Regions from separate parts of the Homo sapiens genome. Here all the other regions are linked to region 1. The links are contacts of gene promoters, found by promoter capture Hi-C in blood cells and fetal thymus (Javierre and others, 2016). All regions are on one chromosome and are shown on one strand. Each heading gives the region's core, a stretch centred on a gene start or on the middle of the fragment in contact. The rest is flanking DNA. Distances are from core to core; before and after follow the strand shown.

Region 1 (2,978 bases), core at 315-2,814:
GGCGGGGCTGTTGTTCTCGCGGACGAACAGGGTGTAGGAGGTTTGGGTGAAGGTGGGGGCGTTGTCATTGACGTCAGAGAGCAGCACGGTTATGTTGTACTCGGTTTTCAGCCTGGGTGTCCCCAAGTCTGTGACGGTGATCGTGATGTTGTACTCGGCTTGGCTCTCTCTGTCCAGTGCTTTTTCAGAAACTAGAGTGAAAAAGTTCTTGAAGGTCGGTTTCAGGAAAAAAGGGAGGTTATCTTGAATAGAGCAAATCATCCTCCCATTGTCTCCAGAGTCTTGGTCTAGGATACTAAAAAGAGCTACTAGGGTCTCTGAGGCATTCTCTGGAATTCTCTTTGTAATCGACGATATGGTCACTTCTGGTGGGTTGTCGTTTATATCCATAACTTTAACTAGAAGGGTGCATTTTCCTGAAAGACCCCCACCATCTGTTGCCTGAATATTTATAGTGTAGGACTGTATTACTTCAAAATCCAGGGGTGATCTCAAATTAACTTCCCCAGATATTGGATTAATTTCAAATGTTTTACGAATATCTTCTGATGCATGGAAAAATGTGTAAGATATTTTTCCATAGTTTCCTGCATCCAGATCCTTAGCTGAGATGGTGGCAATCCAGGAGCCAAGGGGTCTGTCCTCGGGGACTTGCACCTCATAGAGACTCTGAGGAAACTCAGGGGCATTATCATTGATGTCCAACACCTTGATGAGAACCAAAGTTGTCCCAGACTTGGGCGGGGATCCACCATCCACTGCTGTGAGTGTTAATCTGAGTTCAGCTTCCTGTTCATAATCTAAAGCTCTATCTAGGACCAGCTCTGGGTATATCTTTCTGTCACTACTGTCGGGAATTTTAATGTAGAAGTGAGAATTGGGGCTAATTGTGTAGTTTTGGAGACTGTTGCTTCCGACATCCAAATCTTGAGCACTCTCCATTAGAAAGGTAGCTCCAACAGTGGTACCTTCTGATATTTTAATAAGTATTTCCTTGTCTAGAAATGTAGGGGAGTGATCATTTATGTCTTTGACACACAGCTCAAACCGAAAAAACTGTAAAGGGTTTTCCAAAACCACCTGAAAATGCAGCACACAGGGCTCGGTGGAGCCACACAGCTCGTCTCGGTCTAGTTTCTCATTTAGGAGCAAATTCCCAGTCAGCAAATCAAGGTGCAAATACTTTTTATTATCATCAGACACTACCCGGGCTTCACGTGAAGACAGCTCCTCCACCCCCAGCCCTAGGTCCCTCGCTAGATTAGCCACAAAAGAGCCAATTTCTGTTTCCTCTGCCACAGAATAGTGTGCAGATTCAGTACCTGCCCGAGACAATCCCAGCAAAACAAGGAATATTAGAACTTGCCTTTTTCGCAGATCGAGTGCCCCTCTGATCTCCATGGTTCCTTTAGGCAATCTCTTGTGGAAAAACTGAAGCTCAGCCGTAATTTTGGAAGCTGAAGCTCTGGTTTTTAACAGGAACCCCCTGGAGAGTGTATCCTCCAGCAGCTCTGTAGGCGAAGCTCCTTTAATGCCTGTCTTTTCAGTGGGTTGGATGCTTTCTGTTCTCCTGAATAGCGAAGCTCACCGTGCCAGCCTATGTACTGTTTTCGTCTTATCCTGTAGCGCCACCATGTGTCTCCATGTTTTTTTTTTCATTAAAAAAGTTTTCCTCTTTGAAAAAGTAATTCATAAATACATCCGGAACATTCGAAACAAATCCCAGACATCATTTTTTTTCCTTTAAATACTTCACTAAGTATTTTTAATAGGTAAGGCCTTCTAAAAGATAATTGTAATAAAACGTTCACAATCAACAACTTGAGCAATAATTCCTTGGTGTAATTTATACTGCATTTGGTTTTCCCCAGTTCTCTCCAAAATGTCCTTTGCTGTTGGTTTGTTTGAATTTGAATCCAGAAAAGTCCATACACTGCATTATCACTGTTTTGAATGCTCGGCACTAAAGGATCTGTTAAAATATTCTGAACTGAAGAAATAATTTTTTATTTAAGTCATTTCTCGAGTAATTACAAATATATTATCTCCTTCACTCTTGTAAATACTTGTTGTCAGCTATAGTTGGTAATATCATTACTTTTTTCACTTTTATATTTTAAAAATATAAAGAAGGACATGGCACAAATAAGTTAGAGATAATTCTTGCTCTTACAGAGCTCACAAGCTAGAAAAATTGGCAGACAAGTAAACGAAGTATGTCATAATGTATGCATTTATAAAAAGTAATATAGAAATACCTAGAAAAGACTTCTTGTACCTAGGAGGCTGCATACCTTAGTGCTTGGGAATATGGGATCTGGAACCAAATTATCAATATTAGAATCCTGGTTATGTGACTTACTATCTATAAGCTTGGGCAAGTTATAGATACCTTTGTTTCCTCACCTGTAAAATGGGGTAATAATATTTGTCTCCTATGATTATTATCGTAGGCATCTAATGAATTAATATTTACAAAGTGGTTTGTAAGTGCTGGTTAAGTGTCTGTCAAAAATAAAATAATTAAGATCAAAGTCGGACTTGGGACATCAGTGAAAGCTTTCCTGAGGTAATGAAAAATACATTGTGATCTGAAGGAACTAGCCAGGAGAAGGAGGAATATTTCAGATGGGCATTTTGAGGAACACAGAGAAATGAAGTATGCCTTGGACTTTAAAAACTATGGAAGGGGAGGGTCTAACAATGAAATTAGGGTTAAAAGCATGGTGAGAACATGAATCATTATACAGGTCATATCATGCATTCTTGAATTTATCCTAAAGGTAATTCAAGTACAAAGATGGGTTTTAAATATCTGATTAACATGATTACATCTGCATTTTAAAAAATCAGTTTGGCTGCAGTATGGAGAATTAATTTCAGGGGGAGTGACTGGAGAATCAAGGAGATCAGATAAGAGATGATGATCTGGATGAGGATAATGCCAGTGTGGATGGAGAGAAGAGGGATGAATAGAA
Region 2 (2,978 bases), core at 225-2,724, 480 kb after region 1:
TTCCCAGGTTCTGATAAGGTATGAGGCATTCTGCCTCATCTTTCTTAGGGCAGAACTGCAAGCCATAAACTTCTTAGTTGCAAATGGACTCAGCTCCTCAGCAACAGGGTGTCTCATTACTCAGGTTGCCATCCCCTTTTGTATTGGTGCTGTCCTGTGGGAGAGCTGGAAATTCTGCTTATTTCCTTTTGTGTCTATGTAAGTAATAAACTGTCTGAATCAAACAAGGACTGCTGTTTCTTTACTAATCAAAGCTGCTAGGATTTGCCTGAGAATGGGTTCTTATTTTTCCTTGAAGTTCTGTTTCAAAATAGTTTCTTTTTCAAACCTTGTCAACTTGTCTTGGCAACCAGGGATTTGGTTCATATCTGGGAGAGATGACAGTAGTGAGAAGCTGCTCAGAGGAACTGTGGGGATCTGGAAATTTGGTGAAGAGCAGATTTACTCATGGAGTAGGTCTCAAAAGACTCTTACCAAGGCTAACCTCCAGAGTTTCTGTCCCAACCTTAAACCTCTTCAGCTCCTGACCCAGCCTAGTCTTCTCAGGAATCCATGCCGTTTTAGACCCCTCCTTGAAAAAGGGCTCTCTCCCATCTCCAAGAAAATGATAAGCTTGGTGGGGACATACATAGAGGACTAAAGAGGGTCCATGGACATCAAACCTGCCCCCAAAACACAGACAGGAAGAAGCATGCAAATATATCACTGAGATAATGCAGAAAGTAGATTGAATTTGGAGTTCCTTGACAGATAAGTGTCATGAGTTGGTATACCCTGGGCAGTAGGGTCAGCCTAGGCCTGAATGGTTCAAGAACGATGCTGAGTTTTAAGTTTCCTTCTACCCACCACAACTTCCAGACCAGGACACACAAACTTGGGAAGCCCCCATTTGAGGATGCACACCACTGAGAGAAACCCATGTCTTCCTTTCCCTAAAAACTGTTCCCCCAGCTGTGTCTAGGCTCACTCTCCCTCCTCCCACTCAGTGGCTACCTGCCACAAGTCTTGGACCAGCCTCAGTGCTTCCCAGATGACCAAACCGGGGTCATTTTAGCTCAAATCAACTTTCACAGCCAGTACATGAGTCAGACCCATGAAATCCTCCCAAACTGCCAAATGCCAGCCTTGGGTCTTTAAAGCTACCAGAGCTTCATTGTTACCTGGTTACTAGGTAATAACCCACAACAATTACTCCTCTCTGGATCTGGGCCTAAACATTCTGGTATCTTATAGCTCTTTTGTATTAATACTTTCTCTGATTACCTGAAATGATATACCACATAGAAAACTGTACTAAGAGTTATTGAAGAATGTGCAAAAAATTAACAAGAGGTCCAAGGAAAACTAAGCACATGAAGAAAAGTCAAGCATTAACTTCAGGAAAAGTAGAAAGAAGAAAAGGAGACAATCATGGTATATGACCATGTTCTGCTGGGAATTATATTTTGCAAAGGCATAAAAATGTTAACATGAATATTCATCTAACAAAGAATTGTTAGGGCCAGGCACAGTGGCTCACACCTATAATCCCAACACTTTGGGAGGCCGAGGTAGGAGGATGGCTTGAGCCCAGGAGTTCGAGATCATCCCATGCAACACAGTGAGACCTCATCGCGACTAAAAATAAAAAATTAGCTGGGCGTGTGGTATGTGCCTGTGGTCCCAGATTCTTGAGAGGTTGAGGCAGGAGGATCGCTTGAGCCCAGGAGGTGGAAGCTGCAGTGAGCCATGATCGCACCACTGCATTCCAGCCTGGGTGAGAGAGCAAGAGCCTGTCTCAATAAAAGAAAAAGAAAGAAAAGAAAAATTAAGTCATTTCAATCATATACAAACTATCCTAATTAATAAGAAGGAACACTTCCTAAATGATTTTCTAATGCTAAAATAACCTGATAGTGAATCCTATTGTAAAAAATACACACAAAAAAGGAAAAGCCCAGTCTAATGTCATTAATGTAAATAAATGAAAAAAAACCCATACTAATTATTAGAAAATTAAATCCAGTAGTACATAAAAAAGAATAATACAGCATAAGTAGAATTTCTCCAAGATATGAGGTTGACTTAACATTATAAAAGTAATTAGTATATATGCAAAGTTAATGAACTAAAGGGAAAATCATGATTATCTATGTACATGCAGAAAAATTACTTAATAAAATTCAACAACCTTTCATGATTTTAAAATAATCTTAATTAATCTTAAGATTTTTAGCAGATATTAGTTGTATCCTTAGGCATATAAGAGAATATTTGTAACTTGGTAAGGGTGTCCAGGGGAAAAAAAAAAAGCTAAAGCAAACATCATACTTAATGGTGAAATGATTAAAGCTTTCCCTTTGAAATCCAGAACAAGACAGGGATGTCTGCTATCATCACTTTAATCATCCTGTCGTCATTGTTCCAAAGGGCCTAACCAGTGTATACAACAAGAGAAAAATATAAAGGTCTGAGGTGTTCATATGGCATTCTCCATGGTTAGAAAAAGAAGGGGAAAAGTATAAGGAGGTTATTCCGTAGGATTTTGGGGAACAGGTGGTATTTGGTTACGTGAGTAAGTTCTTTAGTGGTGATTTGTGAGATATTGGTGTACCCGTCACCAGAGCAGTATACATTGAACTCAATTTGTAGTCTTTTATCCCTCACCCACTTCCCACCCTACACCCCTGAGTCCCCAAAGTGCACTGTATCATTCTTATGCCTTTGCAGCCTCATAGCTTAGCTCCCACTTATGAGTGAGAAGATACACCTTCTTATATGAAACTTTTTTATTTAGAGTTAAAACTCTGTATGTTTAGAGTTAATACGAGTATAAAACTCTCCTTATTTAGAGTTAATATGATTATAAACATTATAATATCCAGCAAATTTACAGAAAAACTAGTAGGTAATAAGAATAGCAAATTTTCTGAACATGGAAGTAAATATTCATGAAAGGTCATTTATAAGAAAAACAAACCTGACGCTTCATTATAAAA
Region 3 (2,978 bases), core at 287-2,786, 450 kb after region 1:
TTTAGAAAACAACATAAAGGAAAATATTCAGGATCTAGGGCTAGGCAAAAGGCTCTTAGACTTGACATCAAAAGCATAATCTGTAAAATGAAAAACTAATAAGTTGAATTTCTTAAACATTTTTAAACTTTTACCCTTTTAAAAAAAACATATTAAAAGCATAAAAGATAAAGCTAAAATTTTGGAGAAAATGTTTGCAAGCACATATCTGACAACACACTTATATCTAGTACATATAAAAGAACAGTCAAAACTCAACAGTAAAAAAGCAAACAGCCCAATTAGAACCTGGATATGAAAAGACATTTTACCAAAGAAAATATCCAAGAAGGCAAAGAAACACATGAACATATTTTCAATGCCAGTAGCTATTAGGGAGGAGCAATAAAACTACAATTGGGTATTATTAGATACCTATCAGAATGACTCAGATAAAATGTTGAAAACACCAAATGTTAGAAAAAAATTCAGAGAAACTAGATTACTCATACATTCTGGTGATAATGCAAACTGCTATAGCCACTCTGATAAAGAGTAAGGCAGTTTCTTTAAAAACAAAACAAAGCAACCAACTACCCATGGACCTCTCATATAGAACAATAATTGCATTCTTTGGCATTTATTTAATAGAAGTAAAAACTTGTGTTCACACAAAAACCTTTACACAAATGGTAATACAAATTTCATTCATAATATTCCTGAACTTAAAACATCCCAGATGTCCTTCAACAGATGAATAATAAACAGGGGAACATCTATGTAATGGAATTCTATTCCATTATATTAATACATTCAATAACCTGGATGAATTTCCAGAGAATTATGCTGAGTGAAAATGACTAATCACAAAATGTTTTATACTGTATGATTTTATTTATATATCATTCTGGAAATAACAACATTTTAAAAGTGGAAAACAGATTAGTCGTTGCAAGGGTTAAGAAAGAGGTGGGCCAGGGGTGAAAGGTAGTATGGGCATAAAAGGGCAATATAAGGAATCTCTGTAGTAATGGAAATGTTCTGGATCTTAACTGCATCAATATCAATATTTTGGATGTAATATTGATAGTCTTGGAAGATGTTACCATTGTGGAAAAGTGGGTAAAGAGTACAGAGGATTATTATTTCTTATAATTGCATGTGAGCCTACAATTATCTTAAATAATAAGTGTGTTCATCTGATTTGCTTTGCTATAAAGGACTACCTGAGGTCAGTACTATATAAAGAAAATAGGTTTATTTGGCCAATGGTTTGGCAGACTGTACAAGAAGCATGGTGGCAACATCTATTTCTGATAGCCTCTTATTCCTGAGGCCTCAGGAGCTTTTATTCATAATAGAAGGTGAAGGAGGAGGCCAGGCATGGTGGCTCATGCCTGTAACCCCAGCACTTTGGGAGGCCAAGGCGGGCAGGTCATGAGGTCAGGAGTTCGAGACCAGCCTGGCCAACATAGTGAAACCCCATCTCTACTTAAAAAAATACAAAGATTAGCCCGGTGTGGTAGCACGCGCCTGTAGTCCCCACTACTCTGGAGGCTGAGGCAGGAGAATTGCTTGAACGAGGGAAGTGGAGGTTGCAATGAGCTGACATCGCTCCACTGCACTCCAGCCTGGGCGACAGAGTGAGACTCTGTCTCAAAAAAAAAAAAAAAAGGGAGAGAGAAGGTGAAAGGGGAGCAGGCATATCACATGGCAAGAGAGGTGCCAGGCTCCTGTAAATAAGTAGCTATCATGTGAACTAATAAAGTGAGAATTCATTTATTACCACAGGGAGGGCACCAAGCCATTCATGAGGGATCCACCTCCATGACCAAAATACCTCCCACTAGGCTCACCTCCAAAATTGGAGATCACATTTTAACATCAGATTTGGAGGATACAAATATCCAAACCATATCAACAAGTTTAATTATAAAATCAGAAGCGAAGACAGCAAAATCATGAACAAGGAGGCTCCGAACTTTTGTCCCCCAACAGAAACATCAACAAAACAAAAAACAGTCAAAGGTCTACAACAACCAAGTAAACGCCCAATCAAGAAAAAAAAATCTATGAACATATTTAGACTGTAAGAAAAAAAAAATCTAGCCAGGAGCTGTGGCCCATGCCTGTAATCCCAGCAATTTGGGAGGCCAAGGTAGGAGGTTTGCTTGGGCCAGGAGTTTGAGACTAGCCTGGGTAGTCAGACTCCATCTCTACCAAAAAATAAAAATGAAAACAGCCTGGAAAACAGAGAAAGACCCTGTCTCAGAAAGAAACATTTGGTGATGATTTTACTCTTCCTTGCCTGACCTTCTTCCTGGCACAATATCAAACATGGTCTTGAATTGGTGACAGCACAGTTCCCAGTTCCTTCCCTAGAACCAAAGGGTGAAGAGCAGACTTCATTTACAATTTTTTTTGTTTGTCTCTTCTAATCTGTCTAGGGAAACAACTGAAGGACTGAAGCAAAGTGTTTGATTGTTTGAAGGTTAAAGAATTTGCAGGTGGCTATAATTTTAATGTTTGTCCCCTCCAGGCTTCATGTTGAAATTTGATCCCCATTGTGGCAATGTTAGGAGGTAGGACCTAGTGGGAAGCATTTGGTTCATGAAGGTGGATACCTCATGAATAGATTAATACCTTCCCTGCTGGGTTAGTGAGTTTATGCTCTAAATAGTTCCTACGAGAGCTGGTAGTTAAAAAGAACCTGGCATGCACACATAAACATCTGCCTCCTCTCTTATCATTTGATCTCTTTGCACACTGCCTAACCTTCCACATTCCACCATGATATGTGGCAGCCTGAGACCCTCAGATGGAAATATGCAATCTTGAACTTTCCAGTCACCAGAACCATGAGACTAATCATTTCTTTATAAACTATGTGGTCCCACTAGACTGTTACAGCATTACTAAACAGACTAAGACACAGGCACTGCTCCTAAAAGCTACAAGGTGACTACAAACCCACAGACATCTGGAGGAAGATATTATGC
Region 4 (2,978 bases), core at 230-2,729, 430 kb after region 1:
CGAACGCCGGCGCGTTGTCGTTCACGTCGGCCACCTCGATGGACACGCTGGTGGTGGCCCACAGTGAAGGCGAGCCCCCGTCCCGTGCGGTCACCACCAGCTCATAGGCTGACACGCTCTCGCGGTCCAGGGCGCTGTCCAGCACCAACGAGTAGTAATTCTTGAAGGTGGACACCAGCTTGAAAGGGACGTGGGGCGTCAGGGAGCAGGTGACATGTCCATTCGTACCAGAGTCGCGATCCGACACCGTGATGAGAGCAATGACAGTGCCCAGGGAAGCGTTCTCTGAGATGGGAAGTGAGAGAGACGTTATTGAGACTTCTGGTGTGTTATCATTGATGTCCACAAGTTTTAATGAAATTTTACAATGTCCTGACATTGAAGGGGTTCCTTTGTCAGTTGCAGTGACCTGAATCTCGTAGGACTTTGCTTCTTCATAATCTAATTTTCCCTTAGTTCTGATTTCCCCTGAGATGGGATCTATGGTAAACTTAGTCTGTATAGTGGAGGACACATCACTACCGAGTGAATACACAATCTCGCTGTTCGGTCCTTCATCTGCATCAGAAGCGTTTAACTTAACCACTAAGGTCCCATTTGCCGTATTCTCTAACAATTTTACTTTGTAAACTGATTGGGCAAAAGTTGGTTCATTGTCATTTACATCTAATACCTTAATAAGTATTTGAACGGTGCCCGTGAGCTCAGGTTTGCCCCCATCAGTAGCCACCAGTAACAAATTAACCTCAGCAGTTTCCTCTCTGTCCAGCGATTTCCCCAGCACGAGAGACAAAGATTCGCTTAGTTCATCATTTGCCTGTATATCTAGGAAGAAAAACTCACTGGAGCTGAGCTTGTAGGAGAGAAGAGCATTTACTCCTATATCTGCATCAGATGCTCCCTCTAGAGGAAACCGAGAATCAAGCAGCCTTGATTCGGGAAACCGGATAGTCTTTACTGTCATTGGAAATATTGGCGGGTTGTCGTTAATGTCCTTCACCTCCACTTCCACATGGAAAACCTGCAGCGGCCTGTCCACGATCACCTCCACGTGGATGCTACATTCCGCGCTCCGCCCGCACAGCTCCTCCCGGTCGATCCGAGAATTCACAAACAAAATGCCATTCTGCAGATTTACCTCCAGAAGGTCCCCGTGTCTTTTGGACGCCACCCGGAACAGGCGCGGCACCAGCTCCTCCAGCTCCAGCCCCAGGTCCTGCGCGATGCGGCCCACGAAGGTGCCGTGTTTGGCCTCCTCGGGGACGGAGTAGCGGAGCTGGCCGCTCCCCACCTCCCAGGCTGCGAGGAGCAGAAGCGAGAGCAGCCGTGTCCAGGCCCCTCGGCCCCTTCTGATAGAAGACGCCATTACCAATCCTCAATGTTTTGATCAAATTAGAAGAGCATGTTTTGCAAAAATTTAAATATTCTAGTCTCTGTTAAAGTCCTGCTGCTTCTCTTATTCCTCCGCTTCTCTGAAGTAACAAAGGGGCTCTGGGTATTTTCCTTCCTAGAGAACACTCTATGGTGGACAGCGACATCATGTGGCTAAAAGGAAGGCTCTACTGTTTATTCTGTAGATTTAAAACTAGTCGATTTTCTGGTTTAAGTTTACTCATAGCTTTCATCTTGGAAAAAAATAACTATTTTAAGCCCTAAAATATATTACCTTTTTACCCTTTTTTACTCTGGTTAAAAAACACACAACATAATATTTAAAATTACCATATTAACTATGATTAAATGTACATTTCAGTAATGTTAAGTATATTCACATTGTTACAAATTTTTCATCTTGGAAAACAGAAACTCTATACCCATTAGACAACAACTCCGCTTTTCACCGTCACTCCAGTCTCTGGTAACCACAGTCCTATTTTCTATTTCTATGAATTTCACTACTTTAGATATTTCGTGTAAGTGGACTCGTAAAGTATTTGTCTTTTTGTGACTGGCCTATTTCACTTAGCACAATGTCCTCAAGGTTCATCCATGTTGTAGCATGTGACAAGATTTATTTCCTTTTTAAGGCTGAATACTAGTCCATCGTATGTATACACCACGTTTTGTTTATTCATTCAAGCATCCGTGGATGGTTCCTCAAGGTTCATCCATATTGTAACATGTGACAGGACTTCTTTCCTTTTTAAGGCTGAATAATAGTCCAACATATGTATACACCACGTTTTGTTTATTCATTCAAGTATTCGTGGACATTTGAGTTGCTTCCATTTCTTGACTGTTGTGAACAGTGCTGCCATGAACATGGGTGTGCATATATTTCTTTGAGACCCTGCTTTCAATTCTTTTGGATATATTAGCATTTTTCACTATTTCTTCAAATGAAGAACATAGTAATCAAAGGTATTTTAGTCCATTGAAAATATATGTGTATATATACTGTTGTTTTGTGATTTAATTTTGATTTTTGAATTGTTTGCAAATGTTTTGAAATTAATAATTTATTTGTTTCTCATTTGGATAATGTACTATTACTTTAGAATATTCCTTTTCCATTACATTTAGACTTTTATGCAAGAACAATACAATCGATCTCTTTTTTTGTGTTAATTACTTGAGAATATCTTCTTTTGTTAATTTTTAGCTGATCCCTTCACAGTAAAAAAATGAAAATAGAATAAAGATAAGATGAGGATGAAATAAAATGAATCAAGGAGTGGGATAGCATACAAAATCCATAATAAAGGGTCACCTTCAGTTACTCTAACCATGTCACCAATTTTGTTTTCAGCTTCCTAGAGCAAAGAGAGAAGTAAAATTAATTGCAAAATTTGCAATGTCCGTAAGAGAAAAGCAAAGCTCTTGTTAAGAAAAGCTAGCTTTTTTTCCAATAACAATTTTTTTCCCTCATGTACAGTATCTTAAGATACTCATTTGTACCATCTATGGAAATGTGTATTTATGTTAATCATACTCTAACAGTAAATCCCAAGTTAACCGATTTAAGCAAAAATAAACCA
Region 5 (2,978 bases), core at 256-2,755, 390 kb after region 1:
CGAACACCGTATACTCGGGCTGCGCGAACGCCGGGGCGTTGTCGTTCACGTCGGCCACCTCCACGGACACGCTAGCAGTGGCCCACAGAGAAGGCGAGCCCCCGTCCCGCGCGGTAACCACCAGCTCATAGGCGGACACACTCTCGCGGTCCAGAGCGCTGTCCAGCACCAATGAATAGTAATTCTTGAAGGTGGACACCAACTTGAAGGGAACGCGGGGCGTCAGGGAGCAGGTAACCTGTCCGTTGACTCCAAAATCTCGGTCAAACACGCTAATCAATGTGATGACGGTACCTGGTTGGGCGTCCTCTGGAATAGGGAGAGACAGGGAAGTGAGAGTCAACTGTGGAGCATTGTCATTTACATCCACAACTTCCACAAGAACTGTACAATGACCAGCCAGGGGTGGGAAGCCTTTATCGACAGCCTCGACTGGGATCTTGTGTGCTCTACTTTCTTCAAAATCCATATGTCCTATCACTGTGATTGCCCCACTTAAGGGGTCCATGTGGAACTTGGATTTTATATCTGGAGAAACATCACTGGAGAAGGAGTAAATAATATCCCCATTCAAGCCTTCGTCTAAATCTGAGGCATTGGGGTGAATCACCAGCGTTCCGATAGAAACGTTTTCTGGTAATTTCACCGTATACAGGGTTCTGTCGAACACTGGGGCATTGTCATTGTTGTCCAGTACCGTGATGAGTAATTGAACGGTGCCAGTCAGCTCGGGTTTGCCTCCATCGGTGGCCGTGAGCAATAAATGAAGCTCCGGAGTTTCTTCTCTGTCTAAAAGTTTCCGTAATACAAGTCCAAGAGGTTTTACCTGCTGGTTGCTGGTTGGCACGTCCAGGAAGAAATACTCATTGGGGCTCAGTCTGTAAGTGAGCAGGGCGTTCTCCCCGATATCTGCATCGGACGCGCCCTCTAGTGGAAACCGAGAGTCAAGCGGCCTGGATTCCGCGATGAACAGATTCCTTTGTGTCGCTGGGAACACCGGAGGGTTGTCGTTAATGTCCTTCACCTCCACGTCCACATGGAAAACCTGCAGCGGCCTTTCCACGATCACCTCCAGGTGGATGCTGCACTCCGCGCTCCGCCCGCACAGCTCCTCGCGGTCGATCCGAGAATTCACAAACAAAATGCCATTCTGCAGATTTACCTCCAGAAGATCCCCACGGAATTTGCACACCGCCCGGAACAGGCGCGGCACCAGCTCCGCCAGCTCCAGCCCCAGGTCCTGCGCGATGCGGCCCACGAAGTTGCCATGTTTAGCCTCCTCGGGGACCGAGTAGTGGAGCTGGCCTCTCCCTGCCTCCCAAGCTGCTAGAATTATAATAAACAGCAGTAGATGTCGGCCCCCTGGGTCGTATCCATTCGGGCACACCATTTCAAATTATTGGCTTGTTTTTCTAGTCAGCAAAACTTGCCTTCGAATTTATAGGAATGTTTTTATCCCTTCATTTCAATCTCGATGTGTGGCCATTGTTGTGCATCCAAAGAGTGAAAGAGAGTGGAGCGTCTTTCCAGTGCGAAAAGGAATGACTTCCTTTTGCTGATTACGAAAGAATTTGCGGTAAAGAGCGACATCATGTGGCCATCATGTAAGTAAGAATTACAAACCATTACAAACTATTAATCAGATGAAAAGTTTTATTTCAAACTCTGAATTTTTTTCTTCATTGTTGTTAAAGGTTAAAATAGCATTTCTCATGATTGTTAGAAGCATTCTTAGGCGACTGATGGCTTTTGAATACTCAGTGTTACCAGAACTGTAGCTTCCTCATGCCTTAGAAAAACTTTTTTTTCACACAGTTTTAAATAAAGATAGAAACCTAAGTGACAACATGAATTTAAACAACTGCAAGTTTAAATTCCTTTGATCTAGATCCCAGGAAACTTCATATTCTTGATTCAGTATCGCTTGTTAAGAAAAATCCTGTACTCTTTTAGGGACCCAGGATCTCAAGAATCTACTGATTGATGAAAGAGAAACTTAGAAAGCGGTGTGTGTGTGTGTGTTTTCTTTTTAGGAGGCAAGAAACATTAGCAACTATCCAGACACTTCTCTTGGGAAAACAAAATAAGAGAAGGTTTGGGGAATCTTTGAAGGGGAAGAATTTGTATCATGTGAACTTTTTGAGGAGGAAGTATTCTGAATTTTTTGCTTTAGCAGAATCTATATATACTGTTTCAGGAGTTCATCATTTTATATTTGTTTCCTCATTCTATCCTTTCGAACACTTGTGTGTTATGAATATATGCCTATTTTTACAATCTCAAATATGATTTGTATTATTTCTTTTAAAATGTAAGTTTATTTTATTAGATAAATTTCAGTGCTCAGCCATCTCACATACAGCAGCCCTTTGATCAAGTCTTGAGGTATTTCATCCTTTTTGGATCTACCTTACTGTGTTCGTTTTCTGGAATGTTTCACTCCAATGTTCCCAATGGCATGTAAAATAATTATGTCTGTATTCAGATGCTTTCCTAAATAAGTTTTTATAATTGCTGCTCTCCTGGTGTATTGCAGTAGCTTCTTATTGTGTAACCTGTCCATTCCTATTTCATTCTCCTTCATTTAATCCTTGCAGTCATCTTCCGTTAATACTTTTTATTCGTATTGCTTCACACTTTTTGACAGCTTTCAAATGACTTTGAAGAGTGTCAAAATTACTCGTCTAGTACTCAAAGTTATACAAAAGGTTTTTCTCATATTACTTTTCTTGCTTTATATCACACTCTCTCTTATGGGAACCATGTGCTTTACCCAAAGTGGACTATTCCTCATTTCTAGGTACATTTGGAATTTTCTGTATACTCACTTAAGTTACTCTCTTCTCATGAATACCTGTTAGTCTCCATATTCTCCCAGGGAAAACTCTTTCCATTTTATAACCAGTAAAACATCATGACTCTTCACGGTCTCCTTCAACAAGGGAAAAAGGCAAAGATTTTTTTCCAATTCCAATAAC
Region 6 (2,978 bases), core at 314-2,813, 350 kb before region 1:
CTATCTGTTCTAGGTGATCATTTTTACAAATGATACTGCAGTGAACATCCTTGTGCATATCTTCTTTCACATTTATGCCCATATGTTGGATACATTTCTAGAAGTAGACTATATGTTACATGCATGAGAAATTGATTAGTACTGTTAAATGCCCCTCCAAAAGTTGTATCAATTTATACTTCATTGAATAGGGGACTTGATTTGGTATTTATGGACAGGAGCCTAGGGATGGATTGTAGGGAATGCATTTCCCTGAAGAGATGGTCCTTAGCTTTCAGCAGTTTCTGGAAACTGAGTGGTGAGAATAATAATGTGAGAAATCCGGAACACTGATAATGTCCTGTTTCCTAATCGGTCTGTGCCCCTGTGTAATTTACTCATTATACGTGTCCGTGTCACAGTACCTGGAAAGTTCTCTCCGTTTCCTTTCTCTTGGGCAGGAATGAAAGGGTTTTGGAGGCAATGACAGAAAGAGCTGAGATGGATGAAGTGGAACGTTTCCAGCCGCTGCTGGATGGATTAAAAAGTGGAACCACTATTGCACTGAAGGCATGTATATCCCCTGAAACTGGGCCCAAGAATAGAATTCAAGATGGACAGACTTAAATTCATTTGACCTTTTAATAAAATACATGGAGTGCCTCCCAACTATATATTTTACATTTCAGAATCTGTTATGAAGGGAAAATGATTAACCTTCTTTCTAAGAAGGTAAAGAATGAACTGTTTTCCTCATTATGAGATGGAAAAAGGCATGATATCTATTTACAATCTAGGAAAACCAAGACCTACAATAACATATACTCTCAAATCCTTGAAACCATTTAGAGTTTAGGCTCTCCGGATCTGTACTCAAACCAGGTCTCATTGCTATAGTAGAAAAGTCATCTTTAGAGTTTTTGTATTGTATCTTTCAGGTTGTATTGGGGACCTAAGAATGCATGTAAAGAAAATGGATTCTTGATCTCCAGGAGTTAGCATTGACATAGCTGCTGAATTTTCTTATTTTAGGTTGGATGCCTACAGCTGATCAATGCTCTCATCACACCAGCGGAGGAACTTGACTTCCGAGTTCACATCAGAAGTGAACTGATGCGTTTGGGGCTACATCAGGTGTTGCAGGTAAGATATTACACTTCATTAGAAAGGCTAGACTGGTTCCTTCTTGCTCTACAGCCCCAATAATCCCGGGGATAATTCTGGTTTTCAATTAAAAACCAGGTTGAAAAGCTTAGGTTTCTAACCACAGAGGATACTTTTGGGTTCCCTGACTTCTACTTTTGTTGTTGACAGGACCTTCGAGAGATTGAAAATGAAGATATGAGAGTGCAACTAAATGTGTTTGATGAACAAGGGGAAGAGGATTCCTATGACCTGAAGGGACGGCTGGATGACATTCGCATGGAGATGGAATATCCTTTTGCTGACTAGGTTCAAGGCAGATGAGACATTCATTGTATTTAGTTCCCTGATCCCTGTGTGGAATGGTTTGGGAGATGATGACTCAGAACAGAGCATCAGGCTTATGTGTCTTCTCATTAAATAAGGCAGGTGTATTTTTATTGCGCTGGCTTTACTTAGCTTATCATAGATCAGGGAAGTCAGTAAAGGTGATCTGAGGGTTGTTGAGCATGGAAGCCATCAAAATCAGTGTAAACTTCCTAGAATGTGATAGCTTAGCTTACTAAGATGTAGAACTGGCTTTTAGAGATGTTTGGACTGACAGAGGGAGTAATTTAGTTACCTGTTAATATTTTCAGTAAGTGACTTTGAGGCAGTTACCTCTTATTTTCTGTCTACTGCCTGATCTTCAAGCCAAGTACTTACTAGGAATCCTCTGTGTGTATAGTACCACCCAATTCACTGGTCCCTTAAAGGACGTTTTAGAAAGCTTAAAGTTTCTGGTGATGTTTACAGGAAGAACAGCCAGTAGAATGGAAGTGGTGTCTTGCTACTTTTCCCTAGCTTTTTCAAGAGTTAAATAAGCCACCTGTCAAACATAATTTCTGCATATTTGCTTTCCTTAGCCTATTTCCCTTTTCCACTGACTTTAATGAAGTCTTTCAGATTCTCTTAAACACAGTGAAGGATTCAAAGGCAGAGCCACACTTCCTTTCCATCCTGCAGCACTTACTCTTGGTCCGAAATGACTATGAGGCCAGGTAAGATGCTGTGCTTATGAGAAGTTTTGAATTTGAGCCTAAGTGGAGAGAGTGAATTCCTTAAATTCAAAGATTGTTCTGTAAAAGGAAAATGTAAAGACAAAGACCCAAGATTAGGGTTCATTAGTCACCGATATAAAGGAAGTTGTCTTATTTCTTTAATCCAACTCAAAGGCATCCCTATGGCAGAGGTCAGAGTGTATAAGGTGAAATGCCGTTCTGTTTTTGGAGGGGAGTAGGTAAATAGGATGAAGATGTTAGCAAACAGAAGTGGCAATTTAAAATTCTTTCTAGTTTCCTGGAAGTATAGATTTAGCAATAGCACTATCCATCACAGGAAGGATCAAACGCAAATTTTTAGATGGGAAAGTATTGGCACTAGGAGCGGATGGCAAGAAGTTTTGATTATTTGAAGTAGATAGGGTAGGGTAGCTGATGTGGAAAAAGGAGTTTTCTTAGCATGGCAGCAATACTTGTGTTAACTTTACAAAAGTTTTTCCAGGTCTCTCAGTTGTCAGAGCAATTACGTTTTCTTGGTCCTGAATACTTCTGAAAATTATATTTTGATTTTCCTTTGATGACCCTGTTTTTATTCTCTTGTAGACCTCAGTACTATAAGTTGATTGAAGAATGTATTTCCCAGATAGTTCTGCACAAGAACGGGGCTGATCCTGACTTCAAGTGCCGGCACCTCCAGATTGAGATTGAGGGATTAATTGGTAAGCATACTCTTCTATCTGGCTCCTCCAAGTATTGCTTCTTCCTTTCATTTTGCATCTTGTTTCAGTGAAAATGTCAGAGAAGATACCTTTCCAG
Region 7 (2,978 bases), core at 210-2,709, 330 kb after region 1:
ACTTCTTAAACAATCTCTCATGTTTGGCTAGGAAACTGAATAACCGTACTTAAAGAATACATGTAAATTTTAGATAATGAGGTTTTATCTAGAATACCTGAAGCTTGAAATAGATTAAGATTACCCATGATTGCTAGTGCCCCAAGATGCCTGGCAAAAGTCAATTAAAATCCATTCTGGAGAAAGAAAATGTTATAAGCCCCAAATTATTTCCAGGAAGAAGTGTTTAATACAACTTTCAGCACAAAATCAAAGATAACCAGGTTTATGTGGAGACAAAACACCATAAAGATACAATTTTAAAACACACCACAGGAATAGACCCATGAGGATCCCAGTTACTGGACATATCAGAAATAGACGCTAAAACCATGAGCTTATTGTGTTCCAGATATAAATGCCAAGCTTGAAAGTTTCGAGAGGAAACTAGAAATTATACAAAGTAACAATAAATTTGAAAAAGAATAAATAAAAGTATCTTAGACCATTTGTGCTGCTATAACAGAATGCCACAGACTGAGTAATTTATGAGAACGGAAATTTACTTCTCACAATTCTGGAGCCTAGGGGAAGTCCAAGATCAAGGCACCAGCATCTGGTGAAGATCTTCTTGCTGCATCGTCACATGACAGAGCCAAAAGCATAAGAGAGGGACAGGCTCCTTCCATCAAGTCCTTTTACAGTGCCGTTAATTTATTCATGAGGGCAGATCCCTCATAATCTAAACATTTCCTGAAATTCCCCACCTCCCAACACTGTTGTATAAGGGATTGAATTTTCAACACATGAATTTGGGGGTACAAATTCAGACAACAGCAAGAAGAGAGAATTATTAAACTTTAAGGTGGGTGAACTATCCACAATAAAGCCCAAAGAGCAAAAGGTGTTAAAATAAAAGGTAGAAATAGATGGGATAGAGTAATAAGATTAAAATATGTTTAATTAGAGTACTAAAATAATACTATAGAAATACAATGGAACAGAAGCAACATTGGAGAACATTATAGCTGAGGATATGCTCAAAGTGATGTAAAGGCATTAATTCACAAATTCAAAAATCCTATACAATGGACGTTGGGGACTTGGGGGCAAGAGTGGGGGGTGGCGAGGGATAAAAGATTGCAAATATGGTGCAATGTATACTGCTCAGGTGATGGATGCACCAAAATCTCACAAATCACCACCAAAGAACTTACTCATGTAATCAAATACCACCTGTACCCCCAATAACTTACGGAAAAATTAAAAATTAAAAAAAATCCTACTGAATCCAGAACAGGATGATTATAAAGACACAGCATGGTAAAACTGCAAAATATCAGACACACAGAAAATCTGAAAAGCAGCCAAAGGAAAATAAACAGAATACCTTTAAAGGAATGACATTTAGATTGACAGCTAAATTCTTGACAGCAACAATGGAAACCAGTAGACACTGGAATAATATTTACTATGTGCTGTGGGGGTCACACCTAAGATTATACCCTCAGAAAAAATGCTTTTCAATAATTATGATGAAATAAAGACATTTTCAGAAAAACAAAACCTGAAATCATTCCTCACCAGCATCTTTGGACTAAAGGAAACTCTCAAATTATTCTAACATGGAAAGACAATAATCCCTGATGAAAGGTCAGAGGGGCAAGAAGTAAGGAAGAGAAACAAAACTGGTAAATATGTAAGTACATTTAAAACAATGTTGATTGTATAAAATAATACTAATATCTTATGGGGTTTTAAAATATTTTTAAAGCATGACAGAAATAGTATATAAGTCAAAAGGGATTAAAAAGATTTTAAAAATGTAAGGTCCCTGCATTTCCCAGAAGGAGGAAGGGTTTCAGTTAACTTTTGATTTTGATATATCAAGGATACATGCTTAATTTTCTAGGGTAAGCACTAGCTATTCGGAAAAGGGCTTCCAAATAATACAGAAGGAAATGGAACAATAAAAAGTACTCAGTCATTTCAAAAGAAGATCAACAAAGGAAGGAAATAGAGACATAAAAATGGTGAGACAAAAATAACGCACAAAAAATTGAAATATTTGTGCCTAAAGATATCACTAGGTATTGTAAATATAAACTAAATAAATATTCAAGTTAAAATTTATAGATTATCTAAGAAAGAGTACTTGTTCAGGTTATCCATTGCTATATAGTAAACCATCCCAACTACCTAATATCTTAAAACAACTTAATATTACCTCTCCTGGTTCTGACTCAACTGAGTGGTTCTTGCTTGCAATCAGGTGCAGTAGTGTACTGGTAAATGCTTAACAACTAGGTCTCTGGGAAAAAAGAAAAACAAAAAACTCTGTTTTGTAGCATTTGCCTATTTCTGTGGCAGAAATACTCCTACCATGGCCAATTTCAAGCTACCAAAGTGACATCATTGAATCCAGAGTTGGGAATAAATTTGCATTATCAGTTCTCATAAGCCAGTAAAAGAGCCAGCTCCAACACACTACAGTCACCTGAAGCCTTCTACATTTTTCTGGCACCTAAGCTTGGAAAGCTAAGACAACTGGAGACTGGATAGTAATTTTTCTATCCATTTGGCTTCTCACAAGTCCAGCTTGAGCTTCTTTACAGTATGACAATCTCAAGGTAGTCAGAATTCTTACATGGTGGCAGGCTTCCCCCAAAACAAATATTCTCAGAGACCAAAGCATACTGTAAGACTTCTTATGACCTGACTTCATAAATCCCAGAATGTTACTTCCAATATTAAGACCAGTCAAAGTTCAAGGAAAGAAAAATTAGACTCTGCTACTCAGTGAGACAGTAGCAAAGAACTTGTGGAATATGCCCATAATACTAAAAGGTTTAAAATAAAAGGCTGGGAAGAGGACATCTCCTGCAAACACAAATGAAAAGAAGAGAAATGAATCAGTATAATTAATATAAAAATATTTCAAAGCAAAAACAAAAATCAGAAAGCAGAATTCTGAAGAAAAGTAAATTAGACAGGAAGCA

Evidence for each region. Contacts are between HindIII fragments. The CHiCAGO score rates a contact against its expected background, and 5 or more counts as called.
Region 2: a contact is called between a fragment that was not itself captured here and the fragment with the promoter of PCDHB14 in region 1, in 2 of 17 cell types (M2 macrophages and M1 macrophages). The highest score is 6.0, in M2 macrophages.
Region 3: a fragment that was not itself captured here is called in contact with the fragment with the promoter of PCDHB14 in region 1 in 5 of 17 cell types (erythroblasts, M1 macrophages, M0 macrophages and 2 more); the score reaches 10.9 in erythroblasts.
Region 4: a contact is called between the fragment with the promoter of PCDHA2 here and the fragment with the promoter of PCDHB14 in region 1, in 8 of 17 cell types (M2 macrophages, M1 macrophages, erythroblasts and 5 more). The highest score is 17.5, in M2 macrophages.
Region 5: the fragment with the promoter of PCDHA7 here is called in contact with the fragment with the promoter of PCDHB14 in region 1 in 5 of 17 cell types (M0 macrophages, neutrophils, erythroblasts and 2 more); the score reaches 7.0 in M0 macrophages.
Region 6: a fragment that was not itself captured here is called in contact with the fragment with the promoter of PCDHB14 in region 1 in 3 of 17 cell types (endothelial precursors, fetal thymus and total B cells); the score reaches 7.2 in endothelial precursors.
Region 7: a contact is called between a fragment that was not itself captured here and the fragment with the promoter of PCDHB14 in region 1, in 4 of 17 cell types (M2 macrophages, M1 macrophages, M0 macrophages and 1 more). The highest score is 9.2, in M2 macrophages.

Annotation. Positions count from the first base shown.
Region 1 is chr5:141,221,929-141,224,906 of GRCh38, reverse strand. PCDHB14 (protocadherin beta 14) reads right to left here and starts at 1,564. Exons shown (of 1, transcript NM_018934.4): 1 at 1-1,564. The coding sequence starts at 1,401. It also overlaps PCDHB@. The HindIII fragment of the contact is 16,360 bases long and covers 1-2,374 here.
Region 2 is chr5:140,739,205-140,742,182 of GRCh38, reverse strand. The region is part of intron 3 of LOC105378198 (a long non-coding RNA gene); the gene reads right to left. Among named protein-coding and RNA genes, the nearest start is that of ZMAT2, 40 kb to the right of the region's middle. The HindIII fragment of the contact is 1,719 bases long and covers 615-2,333 here.
Region 3 is chr5:140,768,869-140,771,846 of GRCh38, reverse strand. No RefSeq gene overlaps it. Among named protein-coding and RNA genes, the nearest start is that of PCDHA1, 16 kb to the left of the region's middle. The HindIII fragment of the contact is 3,232 bases long and covers 1-2,978 here.
Region 4 is chr5:140,793,353-140,796,330 of GRCh38, reverse strand. PCDHA2 (protocadherin alpha 2) reads right to left here and starts at 1,479. Exons shown (of 4, transcript NM_018905.3): 1 at 1-1,479. The coding sequence starts at 1,366. All of the region lies in intron 1 of PCDHA1 (protocadherin alpha 1), which reads right to left. It also overlaps PCDHA@. The HindIII fragment of the contact is 8,329 bases long and covers 1-2,978 here.
Region 5 is chr5:140,832,796-140,835,773 of GRCh38, reverse strand. It overlaps PCDHA7 (protocadherin alpha 7), which reads right to left and starts at 1,505. Exons shown (of 4, transcript NM_018910.3): 1 at 1-1,505. The coding sequence starts at 1,390. All of the region lies in intron 1 of PCDHA1 (protocadherin alpha 1), which reads right to left. All of the region lies in intron 1 of PCDHA2 (protocadherin alpha 2), which reads right to left. The region is part of intron 1 of PCDHA3 (protocadherin alpha 3); the gene reads right to left. It also overlaps PCDHA4, PCDHA5, PCDHA6 and PCDHA@. RefSeq lists an enhancer at 1-212. The HindIII fragment of the contact is 15,813 bases long and covers 1-2,978 here.
Region 6 is chr5:141,576,659-141,579,636 of GRCh38, reverse strand. DIAPH1 (diaphanous related formin 1) reads left to right here. Exons shown (of 28, transcript NM_005219.5): 9 at 441-549; 10 at 1,012-1,122; 11 at 1,294-1,412; 12 at 2,046-2,162; 13 at 2,766-2,881. Among named protein-coding and RNA genes, the nearest start is that of DIAPH1-AS1, 20 kb to the right of the region's middle. The HindIII fragment of the contact is 661 bases long and covers 1,233-1,893 here.
Region 7 is chr5:140,889,528-140,892,505 of GRCh38, reverse strand. All of the region lies in intron 1 of PCDHA1 (protocadherin alpha 1), which reads right to left. The region is part of intron 1 of PCDHA2 (protocadherin alpha 2); the gene reads right to left. The region is part of intron 1 of PCDHA3 (protocadherin alpha 3); the gene reads right to left. All of the region lies in intron 1 of PCDHA4 (protocadherin alpha 4), which reads right to left. It also overlaps PCDHA5, PCDHA6, PCDHA7, PCDHA8, PCDHA9 and PCDHA10, and 4 more genes. Among named protein-coding and RNA genes, the nearest start is that of PCDHA13, 8.9 kb to the right of the region's middle. The HindIII fragment of the contact is 2,103 bases long and covers 408-2,510 here.